Regions from separate parts of the Homo sapiens genome. Here regions 1 and 3 are each linked to region 2. The links are contacts of gene promoters, found by promoter capture Hi-C in human tissues and cell types (Jung and others, 2019). All regions are on one chromosome and are shown on one strand. The core of a region is centred on a gene start or on the middle of the fragment in contact, and the rest is flanking DNA. Distances in the headings are between cores, read along the strand shown. Region 1 overlaps PCNX1 (pecanex 1). Region 2 holds the start of COX16 (cytochrome c oxidase assembly factor COX16). Region 3 overlaps SLC10A1 (solute carrier family 10 member 1).

The links. Contacts are between HindIII fragments. The study calls those that stand out against the background at their distance.
Region 1: a contact is called between a fragment that was not itself captured here and the fragment with the promoter of COX16 in region 2, in 1 of the 25 tissues and cell types used here (lymphoblastoid cells).
Region 3: a contact is called between a fragment that was not itself captured here and the fragment with the promoter of COX16 in region 2, in 1 of the 25 tissues and cell types used here (mesendoderm cells).

The regions. Positions count from the first base shown.
Region 1 is chr14:70,947,539-70,951,520 of GRCh38, forward strand. All of the region lies in intron 2 of PCNX1 (pecanex 1), which reads left to right. It overlaps LOC105370557 (a long non-coding RNA gene), which reads right to left. Exons shown (of 3, transcript XR_944008.3): 2 at 2,042-2,220. Among named protein-coding and RNA genes, the nearest start is that of PCNX1, 42 kb to the left of the region's middle. The HindIII fragment of the contact is 4,812 bases long and covers 1-3,982 here.
Region 2 is chr14:70,357,971-70,361,967 of GRCh38, forward strand. It overlaps COX16 (cytochrome c oxidase assembly factor COX16), which reads right to left and starts at 1,713. Exons shown (of 4, transcript NM_016468.7): 1 at 1,549-1,713. The coding sequence starts at 1,617. All of the region lies in intron 3 of SYNJ2BP-COX16 (SYNJ2BP-COX16 readthrough), which reads right to left. It also overlaps the pseudogene RNU2-51P. RefSeq lists enhancers at 1,433-1,742, 2,203-2,292. The HindIII fragment of the contact is 8,811 bases long and covers 1-3,997 here.
Region 3 is chr14:69,772,322-69,776,692 of GRCh38, forward strand. SLC10A1 (solute carrier family 10 member 1) reads right to left here. Exons shown (of 5, transcript NM_003049.4): 5 at 3,095-4,067. The coding sequence ends at 3,961. Among named protein-coding and RNA genes, the nearest start is that of SRSF5, 7.4 kb to the left of the region's middle. The HindIII fragment of the contact is 3,910 bases long and covers 621-4,371 here.

The DNA of each region.
Region 1 (3,982 bases), core at 1,027-3,526, 590 kb after region 2:
TTTATCACTTCCTCAATCAGTACTCTTATAGTTTCCTATGCCTGTCCTTTAATCTCTTAATCCCGTCTTCTTCTTAAGCTGAGGATGTATCTCGTCTCAGGATCCTGTGATGATTGCGTTGTCTGTATAAATTGTTTGTAGAGCATGTGTGTTTGAGCAATATGAAATCTGGGCACCTAGAAAAGGAAGAGGATAACAGCGATTTTCAGGGAACAAGGAGATAACCATAAAGTCTGACTGCCTGCGGGCTGGGCGGAACAGAGTCATATTTCTCTTCTTGCAAAAGCAAATAAAAGAAATATCGCTGAATTCTTTTTCTTAGCAAGGAGCAGCCCTGGGAAAAGAATGCATTCCCAGGGGGAGGCCTCTAAAATGGCCACTCTGGGAGTGTCTGTCTTACGCAGTTGTGGATAGGGGATGAAATATGCCCTGGTCTCCAGCAGCGCCCCCAGGCTTGTTAGGATTGGGAAATTCCAGCCTGGCGAAATTGTAGGCAGACTGGTTCTCTGCTCTTGAACCCTGTTTCCTGTTAAGATGTTTATCAATGACAATCTGTGCATAGCGGGACAGTGAACCTCATCAGTAATTCTAATTTCGCCCTGGCATTGTGACCTTGCCCTGCCCATTTGCCTTGTGATATTTTATTGCCCTTGAAGCATGTGATCTCTGTGACCCATACCCTATTCATACACCCCTCCCCTTTTGAAATCCATAATAAAAACTTGCTGGTTTTGTGGCTCAGGGGGCATCACGGAACCTGCCGACATGTGATGTCTCCCCTGGACAGCCAGTTTTAAATTTCTCTCTTTTGTACTCTTTCCCTTTATTTCTCAGACCGGCCAACACTTAGGGAAAATAGAAAAGAACCTACGTTGAAATATTGGGGGCTGGTTCCCCTGATAAATACACTACTGTATGATAGTTACTTACACTAGAGACCAAAACCAGCAGCCTAAAGAAATTATTCAGCATGGCTTATAAATCTCAGCATTTATTTTTATTTACTCATATAAATAAAATGTATGTGTGTGTATATATACACATATGCATATATAGATATGTGTATATATAGATGTGTATATATACACATATATAGTTGTGTATATATAGATGTGTATATATACACGTGTCTATATAGATGTGTATATATACACGTGTATATATACACACATACACATAAGTGTATATACATATATATGTGTATATGTACATATATGTACATATACACATATATGTATAGTGTATATATACTTATAAATGCTTATAAATCAGCATTTATTTTTATTTACTCGTATAAATAAAATGTATGTGTGTATATATACACATATGTATATATAGATATGTGTATATATACACACATACGTGTATATACGTATATATGTGTATATATGTACATATATGTACATATACACATACGTATATGTGTATATACACTTATAAATGCTTATAAATCTCAGCATTTTTATTTACTCGTATAAATAAAATGTGTGTGTATATATACACATGTATATATAGATATATGTATGTATAGACGTGTATATATACATGTGTATATATACATACATGTATATACGTATATGTGTATATATGTACATATACACATATGTATATGTGTATATATACTTATAAATGCTTATACATCTCAGCATTTACTCATAGTGTGTATATACACATGTATATATAGATATATGTATGTGTATATACACACGTGTATACACACACACGTGTATGCACACACGTGTATACACACACGTGTGTACACACATATGTGTGTAGATACACACGTGTATACACGCACGTGCATACACGCACGTGCATATATACATATATAGACACATACGTGTATATACATATGTGTGTGTGTGTACATATATATGTACATATATACACGTATATATGTGTATATATGTATAATATACACATACGCATGTGTATATATATACACACACACCTTAAGCAAATTGTGATATTTTACTTGACATTTATAAGTAGTATACTTTACTTAACCTATTGTAAATTTGTTTGAATTGTATATTCTTACCTTAGAAACTTAGCTGTTTCTTTCCTAGATCTTTGCAAGACTGACTTCTTAGGATTCAACTGTGATTCGATGTCAACTCCTCCTGGAGGCTTTCCTTTCCCATCCCAGCTGAAGTGATCCCCCTGTTGCTCAGTCACATTCTGTAGCATGACCTTGGCCTTGCCCACTTTCCACTTTACCTATTTGACAGAAGTGTCTACTTTATTCATAGTCAAAAGTTTGTGACCTTACAGAAATTAATAGGTACCCCTAATATAACTCTTGGAAAATTTGTGAACACTTGACATACCTCAAAACAATTCTAGCAGGTAGATGCTGTTATTATCCCTGATTTACAGATGTGGAAACCAAGTTGAGAAAGATCAAATAATCTAAGCAGTTGTTTCCACTGAGCATAATATGAAATATTTCAGACATCAAGACATAAATAATGTAAGAAAAAGTGGGCACTCCTCTCTTAAGACAGGTGATATTTCTGTATATTTTCCAGGGCATTGAAAGCCTTTGTTTATTCCTTTTCAATTACATTTTTTTCCTTATTCTTAACATGAGTACCCTGTTTGTTAATTAAACACGTATTTTAGCCTCATAATTTTTGTTTATTGCCTTAATCACTATCTGAAATTATCTTAACATTTATTTGCATTGATGAACTTCTTGAAGGTAATGACCTTATTGTTCTTATAAACTATTATATTCCCAGTTCCAAAATCAGTGTCTGGCAATGATAGGTACTCAGCAAATATTTGAAGTAGTGAAAACGATTATTCTGTGATATTATGTTTAATGATGCACAGTATCTCATTATGCCAATGTATTTTATCCTATTTTAAATTATATCAATCATTTTGAAATTTAAATATTAGATAACTGTGATGTTTAAATTTTCAATGATTAAATGTTCTATCATAGTTTTTCAGAGGTGGAATTACTAGAAATGCTATGCACATTTATAAGTTTTCCAATATGTATTGCCAAATTCCCAAGATTTTACCATTTAATGACTATGACCAGAAATTCAGCTGCCTCTTTTTTTTGCACTTTTGACAACTCTTGAGTATTTAGTATTTTGAAAAACTGTGATATCTCATTGTTTAATATTGTTTAATATGTAAATAAATTATTGTTTAATATTCCCGTTTTTGAATTACTAGTGAAATGGAGGTATTTTTCTTATTGCCATTTATATTTGTTATTCTGTGAATTGTATATTTTTCTATTGGTGGATTTTTTTTTGCTATTGATTTTGGAACTTTTTTTAAATAAAATATATTAGCTCTTCTGTGTCAAATACTCTTCCTCAGTTTATAGCATTTTATTTGTCAGTGTCTTTATATCCTGTAATTTATTTTTCTGTGGTCCAATTTTGTGTGTTTGTTATTTCTGCTTTTGATAACGTTTTCTAAGATTTTCCTTCCCTCAAATTATATAAATATACAATAAATTAAGATCTTTGTATCTACTTTCAGTATTTTTATCATTTTACTTTTTACTCTTAAATTGTTGTCAGTTTGAAAACATTTTAACTTAATTTGTTTAGGTTTGTTTATCACAACACCATTCATTAAGTAACAAATTTTTTCCCTGTAAATTTAGATGCTTTCTTTTTCATGTAGTATACTGTATATACTTATGCTAGTTTCTGAACTTAGTTTTCTGCTTCATCTTTCTGCCTTTTTTCATTTATACCATACTGTTTTTATCATAGTGGCTTTATAATATGTTTAATACTTAGCATTGTGAGTGACTCCAGTATTTTACTTTTTTGATATTATTATTTTTTTGGGGGGCGGGGGTTGGTTGGTTGTTTGTTTTGAGATGGAGTCTTGCTCTGTTGCCCAGACGAGTGCAGTGGTGCGATCTCGGCTCACTGCAACCTCCACCTCCCAGGTTCAAACGGTTCTCCTGCCTCAGCCTCCCAAGTAGCTGGGATTACAGGCA
Region 2 (3,997 bases), core at 463-2,962:
AGTCAAAAATTGAAACAACCCAAATGTTCATCAATTGATAAAATATATCCAAACAATGGAATTATATCCATCAAAAGGAATGAAGTATTGATATATGTTACAATGTGAATGAACCTTAAAAACATTCTAAGTGGAAGAATCCAGTCACAAAAAACCCACGTTGTATTAGTGTGTTAATATGAAATGTGCAGAATAAGCAAATTTACGGGTAGAAGTAGATTAGTGGTTTACCAGGCCAGCATTAAGAGGCAGGAAGAAATGGGAAGTGACTACTATTAGTTATGATGCTTTTTTGGGGGCAATGAAAATGTTCTAAAATTGTGGTGATGGCTCCATAACTAAGAATATACTAATATACGAATATATTAGTATACTAATATCGAATTTGCTAAAAACAACAATTTTTTTTTTTTTTTTTTTTTTTGGAGAGACAGAGGTCTTGCTGGTTTGGAACTCCTGACCTAAAGCGATCCTCCTGTCTTGGCTTCCCCTAACACTGGGATTACAGGTGTGAGCCATCGTGCTTGGCCCAGATACTTCAAATGGGTGAATCTTTTGGAGATTCCTAAAATCCACATTTGATGAATGTGGATTTTTCAAAACTGTGTAAAATATCCATTACCTTTCTAAGATCACTTCTTTCCTTTAGTCTGCTTAAATGGAAAAGCTGGTAATTTCATCTGCGCCAACATTCATACAAAATAAAAATATAGTCTGTATTTAAAAGCAGCTTTTGTTCATATGCTTTAATTATTTCATTTACTAACACATCAAGGCTTGCTGAAGCAAAATAACTGGCCCGTAATCAAAAAGCAAATAAGAGTCATCTGGATTTCAACTCTGGTTGTCTTAAGCCAGCCTCAGCCTGCATTTCATGACATCCTTAGGGAACTCAGTGTGGATATGGATGAAACCATATAAACACGGAAGCTGTTTTCAACGTGCTTTAGAAATTATAACACAGCAATCATTCTGGCTACAATGTGGCAGGCACCGTACTCAACACTTTATTCACAAGGTGTTATTAGTTCATCACAACTCTAAGTATTAAGCTAATTCACAAACTAGAAAGATGAAACAGAAAGATACCAGGAATTCGTGCAGTTAAATGGAATACATCTAGTCCCAATGATCCACAGTATCGTCAAAACATAGCTAAGTTGGGGGCGAGGAAGCAAGCTTAGTAATCATCCAAACTTGGCTTAAAGTGTGGTTCTGACTGAATTCTCTGAGCTTCAATTTACTTAACTGTGAATCAAGGGTAGTAACAATGACCGCGTTCGACGATGGGAAAGACGCCACGCTCACAAGCAGACAGATCCTAGTACACCTGAAATCCAACCGGGAGTGGGGGACAGCGGCGGGGAAGTGGGGGTGTGGAAAAGACTGGTGGAAGAGCTTTTAGGAAAGCTCTCACCCCGTCGCTAGCTCCTTCCTAGCCCGAGTGCCAGCCCTTAACTTCACATTTTACAGATTCCCTCCCAGGTCTTGATCCTGCCAAGGAGGAGGGTCCCACCCCTTGCGGAAGATCCTCCTCACTCCACTCACCAACATGGGGACTCCATAGCCGAGAGTCTTGTTCTTGCGAAAAGCACGCATCACCGCGGGTGCAAACATGAGTGAACTCTTCCATCGGCTCAGAACTCCAAGCGGGCCTAGCGCAGACTCCCAAATCTCAGCAGCTCACGCTCTCACCAAGACGAGTACGTCCTTAACTCACTTCCTTTTCCTTGGTTATTTGGTGCTCGGTCCTTAGTGAATGGTTTCCGCTAGGCAAAAGCAATCGAGCCATCGTAACATACTTGTGCGTCCGCCCAGAAATGTGGGCGTCAGCGTTTTTGGTTCCGTAACGTCGGCGTGCAATTGGGATTTAGAGATTTGAATCGGTTTACGATCACCACCAAATTGATCTGGAAACCAGTACTTCCCACGTTCTGGGTCCTAACTAACGTCTGCTTAGAACACTCCCTTAGGCACATAGCCACTCGATAAAATCAGCTAAGGAAAAAAGTATTTTGAGGCCGGGCGCGGTGGCCTGGGTGGGTGGCCTGTAATCCCAGCACTTTGGGAGGCCGAGGCCGGTAGATCACCTGAGGTCAGGAGTTCTAGATCAGCCTGGTCAACATGGTAAAACCCCGTCTCTATTAAAAAAAAAAAATACAAAAATTAGCCGGGCGTGGTGGCAGGCGCCTGTAATCCCAGCTACTGGGGGGCCGAGGCAGGAGAATCGCTTGAACCCGGGAGGCGGAGGTTGCAATGAGCAGAGATCGCGCCATCGCACTCCAGCCTGGGGAACAAGAGCGAGACTTCGTCTCAAAAAGAAAAAAGAAAAAAAAGTATTTTGAAGCTGGTACTCCAGTCTTTATGGCTATTTGTGGGATGAGGAATTTGCCAGTTTAATGGAGACTTTTAAAAATAAATCGCTTTTGAAAGATTAGGTTGAAATGTAATCAGTGTAGTGTCTCATCAGTCATTACTGAACTTTTAATGCTAATGATTTTACTGTGAGATAACCTGTAATCTTTAGTCATTTATGAATGTCTATTTACCAATGATTCAGCAACCATACAGGCCACCTTTCAGCGTGTCTTTGAAAGGGTTCTAGGAACACAGATAAAAATATATGATCCTTACCTTAAAGACACTGGCGATTTCATGGGCACAGAAACAAACATGTGTGAAGTACTGGGATAGCTTAGGAAGCCGATCCCCCACGTGTCCCATTTACCAGAGTGAATCAGAGTGCAGGTGATGCGGAATATTATCTTCCATGCTATTCCTGAAATATTTCCATCTGTCCCTGCCTCTCTGTTACCACTGAAATGTTCCTTTTTTTAATTCCTTATCATCTTTTCACCTATTAAAGTAGCCTCTTAAGTGGTCTCCAGAAGAGAAGCTCCAGATCTACTGCAGGCTACTCCAGTGAAACTTATCCTTTTGGCTAAGATCAAGTGTAGTATCTGTTCTTAACAGTTTAATATTTGACACATTCTCTATCCAAGGAAAATATGTTAAATGGGTTTTTGAAGCAAGGAGATGGAATAGGAGTTTGCTCCACCACTCTACACATCAACCTGTATTTCAATACCTCCAGAAACCCAGGAACGGTGCATCTCTCCCATCTTATTTACTTCCTTTTGATATTTCAAAATTCATGCAGACCAGGCATGGTGGCTCATGCCTGTAATACCTGCAGTTTGGGAGGCTGAGGCAGGAGGATCATTTGAGCCCAGGAGTTCGAGACCAGCCTGAGCAACAAAGCAAGACCCCATCTTTACAAATAATAATAATAATAATAAATTAGCCAGGCATGGTGGGGTCTCAGCTACTTGGGAAGCTGAGGTGGGAAGATCACTTGAGCCCAGGAGGTCCAGGCTACAGTGAGCCGTGATCATGCCACTGCACTGCAGCCTGGGTGACACAGCTAGACCCTGTTTCAAAAATAAATAAATAAATCTCACGTGGCATCCAGGTTAGTTAAGCGTATCACATCTCCTACTTTCCCTAAGATCCTAGAAGCCAAAGGCGCTGCTCTAAAACTCTAGCGTTTTCCTACATCTTCACTACATAAAACATCAGCCTACTGGATACTACTCCATCAAAACCCGGCACCTAAGTAGTAGCTAATAATGGGTTAAATCGTATACATATATTCAAAATAATGCTAGAGTCGATAATCTTACACTTTTCAGATAAGGCATCTATCCAATTTAAGGCACTCTATGTCTTTAGTATCTTGTTTGTTCAATCACTCAAATAAGCATTTATTGAGAACCTTGAAATGGCCCTGAAGGAGTAACTGTGAACAGTAGGAATTACAGGTATGCCGGCAGATTGTCAGGGGACAAAATCTGTGACACTGAGGAATGTAAGCACCTATCAAATCATACTACATAGGTGGTAAATTTTACCAGCTATGCATAGCGCCCTTCTTAAGCATCACTACTGTATACTTCAGTTTTTCCATCTGTTAAATCGGAATGAGTGATATTTGTCA
Region 3 (4,371 bases), core at 1,326-3,825, 580 kb before region 2:
CTTAAAGATTAGGACAGGTTTTTTTGTTTTGTTTTTGAGATGGAGTTTTGCTCTTGTTGCCCGGGCTGGAGTGCAATGGTGCGATCTTGGCTCACTGCAACCTCTGCCTCCCAAGTTCAAGCGATTCTCCTGCCTCAGCCTCCCAGGTAGCAGAGATAACAGGCATGTGCCACCATGCCCAGCTAATTTTTATTTTTAGTAGAGACGGGTTTCACCGTGTTGGCCAGGCTGGTTTTGAACTCCTAACCTCAGGTGATCCATCTGCCTGGCCTCCCAAAGTACTGGAATTACAGGCATGACCCACTGTGCCCGGCCTTGTTTTTGTTTTTTTTTGAGGCAGGATCTTGTTCTGTTTGTCTAGGCTGGAATGTGGTGGTGTGATCACTGCTCACTGCAGCCTTAACCTCCTGGGCTCAAACAATTGTCCCGCCTCTGCCTCCTGAGTAGTTAAGACTATAGGTGTGCACCACTGTGTGTGGCTAATTTTTTATTTTTCTAGAGACAGGGTCTTGCTATGTTGCCCATACTGGTCTTGAACTGGCCTCAAGTGATTCTCCTAACTTGGCCTCCCAAAGTGCTGGGATTATAGGTGTGAACCACTTTATCCAGTTGTGATGCAGTTTTGGTGGTCAGATAACGTGAATGCTTAAGGGGCTTTGACATGCTACTTTTTGTCTTGAGATATGTATGGGATAGTACATGTTTAAGGGAAAACAATAGTGCAAAATGCCTAAGGTCCTATATCCACATTAACCTTAGACTTCTATATGTGATCTTTCAAGCCCTGTCTTAGATGTGTAGAAAATGAGCTTTGTTAATACAGGAGTCTCAAGACACTTAGATATATTCTTAGTTCTGTGGGGGCTAGACTACATAAATACTGGGAACCAGTGAATAACATCTATATAGCATCTGATAGTAATAGCCAGGCACTGTTTTAAGTGCCATTACCTCTGTGTTGACTGAATCTAATACCATCATTTTACTGGTGGGAATTCAGGAATTTTTCAAAGAACAGGGATGGATTGGTGTTAAAATCTAGGAAGTCTGATTCCTAAGACCCCCACACCACACTGTCACTGTTCACGTAAAGATTTTTGCCCCTAGCTTTTCAGGGATTTGGAAGAAGGCAGAATTAGAAGCACTAGAAAAATGTAGCTTTTAGCTTCCCGAAAGCATGCGGATTGGGAAGTGGGAATCTCCATTTGGGAGAATTGAAAGGTTTTTGGTATCCTTAATTTTTAAAAGGCCACTCCCCAGCTGTTTCTAAGACTAGAACAGGCCACGGAAGCTTAAAACTGCTAATTGCAGTAAGAGGCTGAGTTTAGGAGTTGGTATACCTGTTGAATTAGTTGAGAGAACTAGGTTTATTTTAATAAATGGTTAAATCTAGATTTTCTTAGCGTCTCTGAAGGCAGTACTTAGCCTGAAGTTGCTATCAAAAGCAGCTTCTCACCCTTGGGCTTTTAAAACATGCTCCTCAGTGCAGTATGGTAGTATGTTGATGTTCTTCCCCTCTACCCCTAGACAATCAGACAAACTTTTTTTTTTTTTTGAGATGGAGTCTTGCTGTTGCCCAGTTTGGGCGATCTTGGCTCACTGCAGCCTCTGCCTCCTGGGTTCAAGCGATTCTCTTGCCTCAGCCTCCCAGGTAGCTGGGATTACAGGTGCCCATCCCCATGCCCAGCTATTTTTTTTTTTTTTTTGTATTTTTAGTACAGACGGGGTTTTAACCTGTTAGCCAGTCTGGTCTCGAACTCCTGACCTCAAGTGATACACCCACCTCAACCTCTCAAAGTGCTTGGTTTACAGGCGTGAGCCACTCTGCCAGTCTTCTTTTTTTTTCTTGGGATAGAGTCTTGCTTGGTCACCCAGGCTGGAGTGCAGTGGTGGTGTCTTGACTCACTGGAACCTCCACTTCCCAGGCTCAAGTGATCCTAATGTCTTAGCCTCCCAGGAGCTGGAATATCCCACCACCATGTCTGGCTGATTTTTGTATTTTTATTAGAGATGAGGTTTGACCATGTTGGCCAAGCTGGTCTTGAACTCCTGACTCCAAATAATCTATCTGCCTGCCTTGGCCTCCCAAAGTGTTGGGATTACAGGTGTGAGCCACTGTGCCCAGCCAAGAATTAAGCTACTTTTAATCTTAGAGGTGTTAGGGAGTACGATAAATTCCTTCTTTTGAAAAAAATGGCAGGGAGATAACAATTATGTCTCAAAAAGGGACTCTCAAAACCAGGCTTCAGATACCATGAGGAGTGTGGATGTAATCCTAAGGAAAGGTTTAGGACCTGCCTTTGTAGGGCATGGTTTAACCTTTGTTTTCTATGTTTATATTAGTTTCATCTTTATTCCTTGCTTTTTTTTTTTTTTTTTAGACAGGGTCTTGCTCTGTTGCTAGGTTGGATGGAGCGCGGTGGTGCTATCTCGGCTCACTGCAACCTCTGCTTCTGGGGTTCAAGTGATTCTCCTGCCTCAGCCTCCCGAGTAGCTGGGACTACAGGTGTGTGCCACCATGCCTGGCTAATTTTTGTATTTTTAGTAGAGATGGGGTTTCACCATTTTGGCCAGGATGGTCTCAATCACTTGACCTCATGATCTGCCCGACTCGGCCTCCCAAAGTGCTGGGATTACAGGTGTGAACTACTGCATCCGGCCATCTTTATTCCTTTCTAAGAATGGTTTGAGGCCAACCCTGTCTTCCTCAAAAGCTAAACAAATGTGTTCTTACATAACTTGTATGTAACCAAGTCTCCTAGCAGATGATGTTGGTTAGATAATAGAGAAAACAATTTGAACAGGTAGGTATATATGGATATAATAAGTAAAAATGATAGGTGGTAGCCTTGTCAAAAATCTGCGTTTTTAAGAGGATGTTAGTAACCCAAATCTGTGTTTCTCGTTTTGGTGTTGGGAGTACTTGTTAGTCCTGCACATTTGCCAAACTGATACCCGAAAACTATATTGTCTTGGTTTCATTTGTACCTGACCATACAAAATGATAAAAATCCCAAGTAACTAATAAGCATGATTGACTTTTTGTAATTGTTAATATTAGTTGTTAATCATTTACTTGATCCTTATTTACATATGATATGCAAAATGTTTAAATTTTATTAGAGACAATTTGAAATTTGTGAATTCTAGGTATTTGAACATTTTTCTTTGAATTGGGAAACGACTCATTTTGGCAGTAGTTTGCTGTACCCAGTTTTGGGGGCGCCTTGTGTTAAAACCAAATACCTACTGAACTTAAAAAAGAGATTATTAGTGAGGTAACATTGTGTTAATGTATGTGTTTGTTTCCTGGTTTTTCCTTGTCAAAAGTTTTCCTCCTCTACTAACATGATGCATTCGCCCAGTTTTTTCATTTCATTAGCTATTTTTTGAGTTTGTTTTGCCTGATTGCATCTTACTGTGTTCACTTTTGCATACTTGATGTCAAATTTGACTTTTCGGGAGCATCATCCCAATAATGTCAAAAGGGAAGGAATAGGATCTGAACTTTTTAGGTTAGAACTTCTGAAGTTTAATTCTACAGCACTTGTGAGCATTTATTTCTCTTTTGGGTCACAAAACTTGGAATGGGATTTGGGTATTTGAGTAATGGGTTAAACATATATATTGATTAGTTCAGGAATTGAGTGACTTTAAGATGCTTATCAGACACTTTTAGAGATCCCAGCAAGAGGCAGATTCGGTTTCTGGTTTCATAGAGTTTACAGTCACTGAACAAGTCTTTAAAATAAGTAGCAAATTCTAAGTTGGGGATAGGTGAGGCTTCTTGGGTAGACACCCTGTCTGTGTTCCCGGCCAAGACTTGATGATTCTGATAGATGTACTGGAAATGCTGGAGAAAGACTCAGGCAAGACTGGTGTTTTTGCTGCTCTCTCTAGTTTACCACACTGGCTTTCAGAATTGCTTTGGGACCAGAATCCAGGCCACCAGGGGAAGGGCTAGGCTGTGCAAGGGGAGCAGTCCTCCCCTTTGTAGGTGCCATTTCCCAGAGCTCCTGGAATTGTTTCTTCAGTTGTGGCAGCTGTGTAGATCATTTTTGTTTTATCTGTAAAGTTAAAAAGGGTTACAGGTGTAGAGAGAGAACAAGAGGAGTGAACAATGAAGCTTGTTTAATCTGGAAAGTACAAAAATACCAACTCAGCCCTAGAGTGTGCTAAGTATATATTTTCCATCTCTGTCGTCTCTCCCATGGTTTACTCTTTAAACTCACTTTCCCCTCAGTCTCCCTAATGGTAGTACTAGTAGTAAAAGTCCTAATGAATTAGACTATTGTGTCTTCATCATCACTTCACTTCTAACTTCGTTATACAGTAAAACAACAGGAGATGAGTTTATGTATGCAAGGTCTG